Regions from separate parts of the Homo sapiens genome. Here regions 1 and 3 are each linked to region 2. The links are contacts of gene promoters, found by promoter capture Hi-C in blood cells and fetal thymus (Javierre and others, 2016). All regions are on one chromosome and are shown on one strand. Each heading gives the region's core, a stretch centred on a gene start or on the middle of the fragment in contact. The rest is flanking DNA. Distances are from core to core; before and after follow the strand shown. Region 1 overlaps LOC101929710 (a long non-coding RNA gene). Region 2 holds the start of ARSK (arylsulfatase family member K). Region 3 overlaps LOC101929710 (a long non-coding RNA gene).

Evidence for each region. Contacts are between HindIII fragments. The CHiCAGO score rates a contact against its expected background, and 5 or more counts as called.
Region 1: a fragment that was not itself captured here is called in contact with the fragment with the promoter of ARSK in region 2 in 2 of 17 cell types (total B cells and naive B cells); the score reaches 6.1 in total B cells.
Region 3: a contact is called between a fragment that was not itself captured here and the fragment with the promoter of ARSK in region 2, in 1 of 17 cell types (naive CD4 T cells). The highest score is 5.2, in naive CD4 T cells.

What each region holds. Positions count from the first base shown.
Region 1 is chr5:96,436,235-96,440,123 of GRCh38, reverse strand. The region is part of intron 4 of LOC101929710 (a long non-coding RNA gene); the gene reads right to left. It also overlaps a transcript of CAST not described here and the pseudogene LOC102724070. Among named protein-coding and RNA genes, the nearest start is that of PCSK1, 4.9 kb to the right of the region's middle. The HindIII fragment of the contact is 2,361 bases long and covers 105-2,465 here.
Region 2 is chr5:95,553,494-95,557,205 of GRCh38, reverse strand. ARSK (arylsulfatase family member K) reads right to left here and starts at 2,105. Exons shown (of 8, transcript NM_198150.3): 1 at 1,802-2,105. The coding sequence starts at 1,927. SKIC3 (SKI3 subunit of superkiller complex) reads left to right here and starts at 2,229. Exons shown (of 43, transcript NM_014639.4): 1 at 2,229-2,270. The HindIII fragment of the contact is 6,579 bases long and covers 2,030-3,712 here.
Region 3 is chr5:96,334,852-96,338,913 of GRCh38, reverse strand. All of the region lies in intron 3 of LOC101929710 (a long non-coding RNA gene), which reads right to left. All of the region lies in intron 1 of LOC107986365 (a long non-coding RNA gene), which reads right to left. It also overlaps a transcript of CAST not described here. Among named protein-coding and RNA genes, the nearest start is that of PCSK1, 96 kb to the left of the region's middle. The HindIII fragment of the contact is 2,380 bases long and covers 878-3,257 here.

The DNA.
Region 1 (3,889 bases), core at 36-2,535, 880 kb before region 2:
ACTGTAGGGGTCACTGTTTCCAGACTAACATTTTCTAGTTTATAAAGAGAAGCCAGAAAACCAGATTTTTGTTAGCTATTTCCTGAGTTTCAGTATCAGAAGCTTACTTAGAACTTTTAAAGTAATGTGCCGTGGGCCACTTCTGCTTTAGTACCTTTGTTTTCTCTTTCAGTTTTACTGATTGTACAATTTTTTTGCCTGTCATAACTGGGATCAGGATTGGTCCCTCTTCTAACCATAATTAGGGACAATTGTTGAAGGTCTTCTTTCCTCTACTTGTTTACAACAGCTTCAAGGATTATATTATTTTAAACAACAAGCAGATTAATCCCTGTGTTCACTGGAGGGAGGTGAGAAACAAAGGGGAAGTTAGGATCAGTCCATTATTATTTATCCCTCAGTGGCACCTGCTAGAAAGCAACCCCGAGGTGACCAATTTCTTACAGTTGGTTCGGGGGTGTGAAGCCTCCACCTTTAACTGTGCCTGATGTCTCTGGGGAAAACACCCTCAGTCTCTTTGCTGGGTGACAAAGGGATAGTTTTCTGCAATAAAGAGTGATGAGGGAAGCTGGGGAAGATTGCTTTTGAAACAGACTTTAAAGCAATCTTTTTTTATTTTCCAACCTATTTGCATCCTAATGTCAAGTTATTTGGTGCCTGCCAATTCCTCAGTCATGGGGAATTCTGAGGCATAGAAAGGGTTAGTTCTTGGCTTTCCCTGCTGCTGGATTAACATTTCATTTTCTTGGGTCTGCTAAATTAGTTGCTTTTTTGCTTTCATAATTTTTTGTGATTGCTTCTACTCCTGTTCTCCCCATTTCATAAGTTTATGTCCTTAAAAAAATCCCTTCTTTGTAGTTTTTGAGGGGTTTTAGTGGGGCATGAAAGGAGACACATATATTTAATCAACCAACTTTACCTGAAAGTATAGTAGCCAAACAAATAGATACACTCTAAGTGTCTTCCGTTACTTGATAAGTTGAAGTATACTTAACACATTTAATGGAAAGCTATGCAACCATTATAAATTATGCCAGTGAACAGTTATTGACATGGAAATATATCAGTATATTAAGTGGAAAGTGATAGGTTAATAGCATTAATAATAGTAGCAAACTAAGCGATTTCTCTGTCCTCACCCTTCTGCTAAGTATCTTAAATGGATTATTTCACTTAATCTCACAGAAAAATCTCCTGACATGTGGAATGAGAAGTTATGAATATCACAAACATAAATGTCTATGAAAGTAAAATTATTTTCATTTTCTCCAAAAATATAAATTTGGAGAGTATTACTACATTATGGCTCTCTGCATCATGAGTTTGTCAATAATTTTTACACCGAAATATTATTTTTCAAATAGTAACTTTACAGTGGAGAAATCTGGTTGATATGATACCATCTTAACCAAGTGATCAGAGATAACATCACTAGTAATTAGACATATGGACACCATGTACCTCCTGATACAAGTCAATGAAAATGACATAACATCACTTATTCCTACAAATGTTTAATCCCAGCCTAATCATTAGAAAACACCAGACAAACCAAAATTAAGGACCATAATATAAAATAACTGAATAGTACTCCTCAAAAGTTTTAAGGTTGTGAGAGACAAAGATAAAATATCCCAGTTTGGAGGAGACATAATAACCAAATGCAATAGGGAGTCTTAATTGAATACTGGACCATAAAAGAAGATATACTAATAGAACAGTTGGAAAAATATAAAGGTCTATAAATGAGTTAAGAATATTGTATCAATGTTAATGTTTTGGTTTAGCTAATAGTAATATGGTTACACCAGATGTAAACCCCAGGGAAAGCTGCATGAACGGTATACACAAGTTTTGTGTACTGTTTTTTCTTAATTTTCTGTAACTATAAAGTTATTTCAAAATAAAAAGTTGGAAAAATAAATTATCTTTTTTTAGTTGGCCAACTATACTATATTCTATTCTGGGTGCCACATTTAAAAAATTCTATTGAAAGACCCTATCCGGACAAGAGCAAGCAGAATGCCAAAGTGTTAAAAAGGTTGGGGATGTTTAACCTAGAGCAGAAAAAAGTTAGGCAAGATATAACAATCTGCCTTCGAAGTATGAATTGCTATCATGTATAAAAGAGATTGAGACTTGTCAGTGTGGTACTAGAGGGCAAAATTAGCATGCTTGACTGGAGGTAGTAATGAGGAAAGGTTTTATAATATCATTATAAGGAAGGACTTTGTAACCATTTCAGCCAATCCAAACCAAAGAATGGGTTGCTTTGGGAGACCAGGAATTGCCTAACAACTTGTTAAAAAATATCACAGAGGAGTGTCATGTATACCAGGCATGTTAAGTAGATCAGTGCGTCTCAAACTTTAATTGCGTATGAATCACTACGGACTCATTAACAATGCAGATTCTGATTCAGTAGTTCTGGGGTGGGGGCTGAGGGTCTGCATTTCTAACAAGCTTCCAAGTGATGCCTATAATGCTGGTATGTGGACAAGACTTTGAGAAGCAAGGAGCTGTATAATATTCAAGGTCACTTTTCAATACTAAAGTCTATAATTCTCATAGAAAGACATACTTCAGGAGCAGAGACAGCAGTTATGCACTGAGAGTTTAATACGAAAATGGCAATGTTTGAGAGCACAGAGGAAGCAAGAGCATTGCCTGCAAGCAGAAGCAGGGATGCTCTGCAACTCACTCAGTAAATGCATATTTTAAAAGAACCTGTTAAAGAAAGAACCTAAATACTTGTATATGGCCACATTTAATTATCCATTTTCATTAGAAAAGATCAATTATTTCTAGCAAGTGGAATTTATGGCACTCACTGCTTCCATTTTAATAATTCAATTCAATTCTACATTAAATTCAAGATTTTGTGTTTATCTAGTTCATTCAGCAAAAATCCTTCATAATTATTCATCCACCTCAAAGCCTTTGCAGTGTATAGACTTTGCTTTTTTACTCTTTTACTTCCATTTCTATAGGTCAGAGCATCCCAACCAGTAGAATTAAAGATGTCCCTCAAGATATTTGGTCTTCTAATCACTTGGGAAGGCCAGGTGAGTAGCTTGTTGCTGAGCTCTTGGAACTCAACCAAGTCGTGTCCACCACCTTGATGCTGTATTTACTTCAGCAACCTGCTGCAAGCATGTCTATTTCCATCATGTGAAAAGTGTCTGTGGATCTGCTGGAGGAGTTCATACTCTAAGTACTTAATTAGCATAGCACACCCACCAAAATTTGGTCACGGGAGGAGATATCATGAGAAAGTAATTCAGGGACTTCTGGCAGGTGTATCTTTAAGTGGTAACCCCAATATCAGTCTTTGTGTATACTAGATACTTTTCTCAATTTGTGGTAAAGTTGGTAGATGGTAACTTCTCTAAAAGGTGTGTGTATTTTCCAATTTACAATTTCAATATTATTTTGTCATACTTGACCTGTAAAATTTAGATGGATTCTGAATCTATAGGCATTTTCATATAGAACTCCAATGATAAATATGTCAAGAAAATAAAGACGGCTATATTATTTAAAATAGAATTTTGCAAAAAAGTTTCATTGACAGCAGCTATTAAGAATATAAAAAGATCATTTGTCATTAAAATGTTTTAATTAGAAATGATATATAGCCTTTTTAAGCATAAAACTTCAGATAAAAACTTATATTGGTGAAAGCATATTCAGATTTCTCAATTTAAAGTTATTAATATGCAATTTAATGTATTGCCCAAAATGTTATATTTTATTTTGTTATCATAATTGTATCATGTAAAGAAAATGTTATGAATCTCTTCACCCAGCTCCATACAGATGTCTTCAAATTTCCTCCAGTTTACCCCAGTGTGCCACACAAATATTGTTATTTTCTATGTTGGAAAAC
Region 2 (3,712 bases), core at 856-3,355:
TTGTGGACATGGAACTCTGTTAAAGCAAGCTGTCAAATACTAATGGGGATGGGTCAAAAGGACTCAGAACCACCTGAAGGGGCTTCCACTGGCCAAAGATAGGACAGTTTGAATATTAACAAGTATGTGAATGCAAAAATTTTTTTTATTTTTTATTTTTTAAAAATTTTTTTATTTTTATTTTTATTTTTTTTTCGAGACGGACTCTCGCTCCGTCGCCCAGGCTGGAGTGCAGTGGTGCGATATCAGGTCACTGCAAGCTCCGCCTCCCAGGTTCACGCCATTCTCCTGCTTCAGCCTCCCGAGTAGCTGGGACTACAGGCGCCCGAAACCACGCCCGGCTAATTTTTTTGTATTTTTAGTAGAGACGGGGTTTCACTGTGTTAGCCAGGATGGTCTTGATCTCTTGACCTCGTGATCCGCCCACCTCGGCCTCCCAAAGTGCTGGGATTACAGGCGTGAGCCACCGCGCCCGGCCGTGAATGCAAAAAATTTAAGCACAAATATAGAAAAATCTATGCATTCATACTACACTAAAAAAAATAACAAACCTATATATCTCAGTCATCTTTGGAAGTTTCTGGGATGTTGTGATCCACATTCGGATTCCCTTTTAGGAATGAACAATTGCCTCTGCTGAAGACAGCTGCTTTGCCCAACACCATGCCCCATTCTAGGAGCAGCCCACAACCAGTGGCCATCCAACATGCAGGTGGAAAGGTCTGTTCTCCTCACTCCTATTGGAAAGCAGCTCTGAAGCACCATACTAGTTTGAGAACTGTCATTCATAAGATGGCAACAAAATTCAGCTTCTCCTCTGCACAATCCTGCTTCCTTCATTTGCCTTTGATTACAAGAGCACTCTGTAATAAAATGCCATCTAGTCAATTTCCAGTACTGCCCATTCTCTAAGTTTAAATCACAAAGATAACTTTAAGTAATATTTTCAAAAAATCCCATGGGCACATCCAGACTATGTAATTTTAATCATCAGGAATCTACGAGAAAGGAAATACAACATATGATTACAAACACTCTTTAGTGCCAGATATGCTTAACACCAACATCTGTGTGACCACAGTAACACCGAGTGATAATAAACTAATATTACAATTAATAACCAAACAATTGTCTAAGCAGCACTTTTTAAAACATGGATCATCCTAAAAGCATCGCGTAAGGTTGACAGTAGCACCTTTGGCTTGGGAAAGTTTCAAAAACTGTTTAAGTTTGGGATTCAGCCACATTACCAACACACACACATACACACAATTTCTCTGGAATACGGGGGAGTGAATCAAGTTATACCAACGATTCCATTTGAATCAGCACTAACAGGATTATCACAGACCTGGGTAATAAAAATAAACTTTCTTCACTTCTCACCCAAACATGAATTCCTGCAAACTTGAGGTGAACTGGAAAATGACTTTTGGAAAGCTAACACGCTTTTATGGAGATGCAGAATGTTATTTTACCACACAATTAAACCAAACGGGGGTATGGACTGAAAGTTCATTAGTCGTGGTAAAATAATTTAGCGAATCGAGGTCAGTATTAAAAAAAAAAGATCTGCAAAGATGTTTTCAGTGTTTCACTATTGTTTTACATGTTTGCATAGGTATGTGGTGTACGTGTGAGTACACGGGGCCTCACATAAAATGTATTTCTTTCTTTGCATCGGGGTAAAAGGTGTTTGAAAATGTCTCAGGTTCTGCTCCCCAAAGCCTGCAGCACAGGCGGCGGCGGTGAGGTCGCCGATCCCCAGCGGGGCGCCCCTCCCCTGCCTCGCGGTACTTACGAAGGAGTCGCTCACGACCAGCACCACATTGGGCGCTTTGGCTGCTCTCCGCCTCTGCTCCCCTGCTCCGGGGGCCAGTACCGCCAGCGCCAAGGCTGCGACCACCGACACCCACAGCAGTAGCATCGCCGGTAGCGGTTCTGAGAGCCTGCCGCCGGGCCAGCCGCCTCCCTCTGGCGTTCTCTCCCTAGCAGAGCAGGGCAGGGACAGCGAACAACTCCCAAAGCTTGCAGTTTGGTTGCTTGATAGTAACGCCGAGCTTCACCCGCAGAACTACAACTCCTATCAGGCGGAGAGCGCGCACATGCGCAACAGAGAAATTCCCGCTTTTACCCACGTTAAGACCTTTTAATCAAATACCGAGCAAATCAGAACCCAGCCACTTCCAGTCACGTGAATGAGTCCTGGGAAAGGCGCATGCGCTCTCATTGCAGCCTCGGCGTTTGTAGAAGAGGAGCATCTGCTCCAGGTGGGTTTGGATTTCTGTCGGTTTTGCACAAGGGATCCTAAAGGCGATTGAAATGGTACTTAGAGAAAGAAAGGATCGGGGCCGGGGCTGTTCATTTTGGGCCGCGCAAGCGTGGCTGAGTGTTCGGCGAGAGCGTGAACTGGGCGGCGATGAGGTGGCGGCGCGGCTGTCACTTAAGTTGAATAGGGCGGTGCCTTGTGGGGCCTCTGGGTGGACCGCCTCAGGTGCGCCGTGAATGCCTTAGACCCCCCCGAATACCTTCCCAGGGAAATCTCTAGCCTGTCTCATCTTATTGCTTCTCTTACCCCGTGCAGTCAGGATTTACTGTGCTCCCATGGGGCGAGGAGCGGGGCCTAGTAAGAAGTTTCAGGCTGTAGGCAGGGGAAAGCATAGCTGTTCCTTGCCTTCAGAGAGCAAAGGAGATAAGCGAAACTGGAGGGGGAAATGGGCTGTGTGACATGTTCAGTTAGTTGACGTAGGTTCAGAATATCATTGTTTTGCTGCAGAATAAAAACCGGTCTCTTTTGACTGTTGAATTCCTTTGGAGAGTTCTGGAAGAAGCAGATTTCTGTCCCAAAGCCAAATTCCAATTTCTGTATCTAGTTTCGGGTATATAATTTGCACATCACACTAGTAGTTTTAATATTCTGACAGTTAAAAGAGGAGTTATACTACTTACTTAAGTCAACTGAATACTAATATCTGGCAGGTTTTTTTTTGCCTAAGATAATTGTAGTAAGGAACAGATTTGTTTATTTAATACTCACATGGCACTTAGGTGCTGAGCGTTATACTAAGCATTTACTGAGCATCTGCTGCGTGCCACGTACTTTTATATGGAATATTTTCTATAATCCTCACTTTCACCATATTGCAGATAGGAAAACAGGCTTAGAGAGGTTAAATGACTGGCCTGAGTTTACACAGGGAGCCAGTCAGAGCACGACTGAAAATTGAAGAGTCTGTGCCGTAACTCACTAAATGCTCTGTCTGCAGTTAGTTTATCTGTTAGTGTAGCAGAATTGTTACTCAAGCAGCATGATAAAGATCTGCGGGAGCATGCAAAAACGTAAACAGTGTTGGGCGCGGTGGCTCACGCCTGTAATCCCAGCACTTTGGGAAGCCGAGACGGGCGGATCACCGAAGGTTAGGGGTTCGAGACCAGCCTGGCCAGCATGGTGAAACCCCGTCTCTACGAAAAATACGCAAAATACTGGGCGTGGTGGCGGGCGCCTGTAATCCCAGCTACTAGGGAGGCTGAGGCAGGAGAATCACTTGAACCCAGGAGGTGGAGGTTGCAGTGAGCTGAGATCGCACCTTTGCACTCCGCCTGGGCAACAAGAGCAAAACTCCATCTCAAAAAAAAAACAAAAACAAAAAAACCCCTAAACAATAGTCTCAGTTTACATGAGTTTAGATTTCAGGGAAGCAAAACCAAGCAT
Region 3 (4,062 bases), core at 818-3,317, 780 kb before region 2:
AAAACCAAACCATCTACAGAGCCAGAATGGCACACAGAGGAAGACAGAAACATGAGAAGTAGCCTTGCCAAAGTCCAAAGGTCTGAGCAAGAACACCAGGAGCCAAGTCTCTAGAGCACAAACAACCAGGCAGAAGGGCTCCCAGGAACAGGATGTTCTGCGGCATTTCCAAAAACCCCTGGCCTCTGGGCACGGCATCCAGAGCTCACCAAGCACCCTCTTCCCAGGGGTTCGCTTCCAGAAAGAGAAATATAATATACTTTGGAATGAGCAGCAAGCTATCCACCAAATCACATTTCTACTTATTGAAAAGTGAATCTCTTTAGACTAAATCTCAGAGCAAAGTTGTTTGGGGGGAGAAGTGATGTGATCAACTTTTCCCACTCCAGACTCAGAGTTCAATACTTTCTATTATCTAAATATACCTGTTTAGGCCTTGTGAGTTACCTATATTGTAACCACTACCTACAGAAATTTACAAGTTCTAATAATACCATAAACAAGGATTACAAAGGAAGAAGGAAGGAAAGAATAGGATAATAAATGAAGCAAAGTATGAAGAAAGCAGAAGTAAAACAGCATAAGGCAGCATATAGCATTAAGTCATAAGTCAAAAAACGATGCAGAGTTTTTGAAACTCTCAAGAATATTTGAAACTGAAATTTGAAGTGCATAAATGCATTTGAAATATGAAAGCAGAATAAAAATAGGTTTGTTGTTTTGTTTGTTGAACGTTTCAACCTAACAGAAGATGATGACAGAACTTCTTAATGATTATGGTCTAACAATTGTTGTGTCATAACTTTCAGGAATAAAAACATGGACACTGTTAGTAAAGTCAAGTCTATTTACTCCTTTCATTTCTCATTCCAAAGCTTTCATCCTAGCTGTGCCTCCAGCAAGGAATGCTGGATAGAGTAGGCTAAGACAGAAAAAAAAAATTAAAAGTTTTCCTTAGCTATAGAAACATAAGGAAAAATTTCAAGTACTAATGTTTTATATGTGTTCAAAATGTTAGAGGTATTCTGTTAGGTTCATGTCTTTGCTAATGCCCAGAGGACTTTGTAAAGACAGACAGTAAACTAATGAAGAGAGAAGTAAAACCATTGATTTGATGTCAGAAATCAAGTCCAAAGATGTCCAGATTTGTAATGAAGAAAAAGGTTCAGGTTGCTGGATTCCCAGCACAGCAGTCCAGCTTTGAACTTGGAGGAGGTAGATGCCAAAGAGGACATTAACATTGAACTCCACAGAAGTGAGCATCATAACCATGGTGCACAGATGTGGCTACCTGCATTACAGAAGATCCAGCTGGTGTCCCCAGATCCCTCCAAACATGTGTGGAATCACAGGAATTCAGACGTCTTGTTTCCTAGCTACTGTGTCCTGAGCTTTGCGGCATCTTACTTCCAGTGTTACTACGGACATAAATGGTGTCCTAATATTTTTTCCCTTTCTTCAGTGTACTATGAAGTTCAATGTCAATTGACATAGTACCATAATAAAGTACATAAAATATAATTTTACCTATAATTCTTTAGTATTATATGAGCATACAGAGACCATAGTTGGTTCTTACCATTAAATGAAAGACTTCCTTTTTTTTCTCTCTTGATTGAAAATAGAAAAGGGGAAACCAGGCTAAAAGGGGTTTGGGTCAGAGCTTAATGGCATATTAGGGTGTCTATGGGTGTGTGTGTGTGGTTGTGTGATTCATTTCCACTCTCATGTCAGAAGAGACCCTTGGAATCAGAGTAAGTTTTACTTTGTTTTAGCTCAGTTTCGCTTTCAGGGTTCTATGATATCAGGGTTAAATTCATCCATTTAAATTGCAAGCCCAAATGTTTTCCAAGTGTCTTTTTTTCAAATATGTTTCATCTAACATTGTAAAGATCAAACGTAAACTCCTAGCTTCTGCAAAACAGCTCTTACCCCAGGGTCTTCCATATTAAATATTTACTGAATTAATGAAACTCTTCCCAGTTTTACTCCTAAAACATACTTTCTGGTGATTCACAGTTTTGAAGTGTGATCTTCTACTACTTGATTAACAGACATGAAATCTAAGTCCTCAGATATTAAAGGAAGAACCGGGACTAAAAGTCACATCTCCTGACTCCAAATTGAGTGTTTTGAGGTCCATCACATGCTTTACCCCAAATCTCTATTCCCAAAGTAAATTAAAAATGTGTGACTCAGAATTAGACATCTGGAAAAGCATTTTGGGGACAAAGAACAGTAATAGTAAATGTCTACAGCAAAACCTCACAAGAAACTGCAGAATGCCTTAACACTGTGGGTTTGATGTGCTCCTTCCAATGGGAACCTCTAGAGGGCAGTCCACTCTTCATAACAGACAAGTTCTGCCGGGTTTACAAGAACTCTGGGAGCGAAAAATCTAAAATGTTTGGCATACTTTCTAACAGCTTTCAATCAAACAGGGCACACAAATATCTCAGGCCCAGTCCAATTTTTGGCTGCGTTGGAGAAGAACGCGACTTAACTATGTATTTAGCTATGGGTTTTTTCTCTTTTTCCCTCTCTCCCTAAGCATGAAGGCTCTAATGTTTAATATGAAATGAACTTGAAACTTCCCTTATAATACTAACCTAATACACTGGAGTAAAACATATTTATTGGTAAATGTGCAAGTAAAGAACAGAAAGAGAACAGAAGACTTGCAGAGAACTACTGCCGGTTGAGAGTTGGAGTCAAAATAGGGGGCAGCGGGTGGTAGGAGCTAAGGTTTAAGAGATAGACAAGGGACAGCCCCAGGAAAGGAGGTTGAATTTCCTTGTGTAGATTCAGAATGACTTTAGCAAGAGAAGGACTGGGTCAGATTACTGTTTTGTATATGAATCATTCAGGTAGCTCTGGAGAGAGAATGGAGTGGGCCAGGTCTAGAAACCAGGAAGCCAATTGAGAGACTGTTATATTGGTCCAGTTAAAAGAAGGTGCATTTGAGATAGGGTAGTGGTGGTAGGAGTGGAGTTGAGAGGATGGGTTTGAGAAATGCATAGGAGGGGAAAACATCAGGATGTAATGATCAGTTGGATAAAGGGAGTGAGGAGAAGAAAAAAGTCAAGGCAGACATTTTATAACTTTTGTCACTGGGTAAAGAGAAGGTAACAGAACAAATAGAGGTTTAGGTTGGAGGGAAGTGATACATGTAGCTTTTGAGCAATTGAATCCGAAATGTCTGAAGAGTGCCCAAGAAAAGCTGCCTAGCAGGTGATGGAATTGGTGAGCCTAAAGCTTGGGGGAGAAATTGGAGATGGAGATTGAACTAGACAGTCATTACTATACAGATGGTAGCTGAAATCCTGAGTGTAGAAAAATCCACCCAAGAAGAGTATCAGTAATGAGAAGAGCGGTAGGCTAAAACAGAAAGGTAGGTAACCCCAGCATGTGGGTGGTAGATGGAGGGAGAGGAGACCATGGTTGGGAAAGAACAGAAACAAATGAGGCAAGCTGAGAGAATATAATATGACTATCATAGAGAGTGAGTGGTGCACACAAGCAACATGGCCAAATGCCCCAGAAACATACAGTGAGACAAAGATTGGAAAATGTCCACTGAATTTTCCAGCTACAATATGGGTGGCCTTACCAAAAGCAGAAGCCAGATTGCAGGGGATGCAGAGTGAATGGCACATGAAGTGGTCACACTGAGTATAGGTAACTCTTTAAAGATGTTTGGATGAAATAGAAGAAGAGATAGGACATCACTAAGAGGACATGGGGGTCAAAGGTAGACTTCTTTTTTAATGAATGGGAAGGAGATGAGTAAGCTTGTAGTCTGAAGAGGACATACCCCTGCAAGAGGAAAGGTGGATGTTTCAAGAGGGAGGATGGCTGTGGAACCTGGTCTTGGCATGTGTAACTGGGGTCGGCCTTGAACAAAAGGAGACAATGCATCTTCTGAAATTGGAGGACGATAATGCAGGGTGTGAGTGGAGCTCTGTTCCTAGGCATGGGTGAGGCAAGAAATGGAAGGCGCTCATGCTCATTTGCCTCTATAGCAGGATAATGAATTTAGATATCATTTTTGATATTGCATTT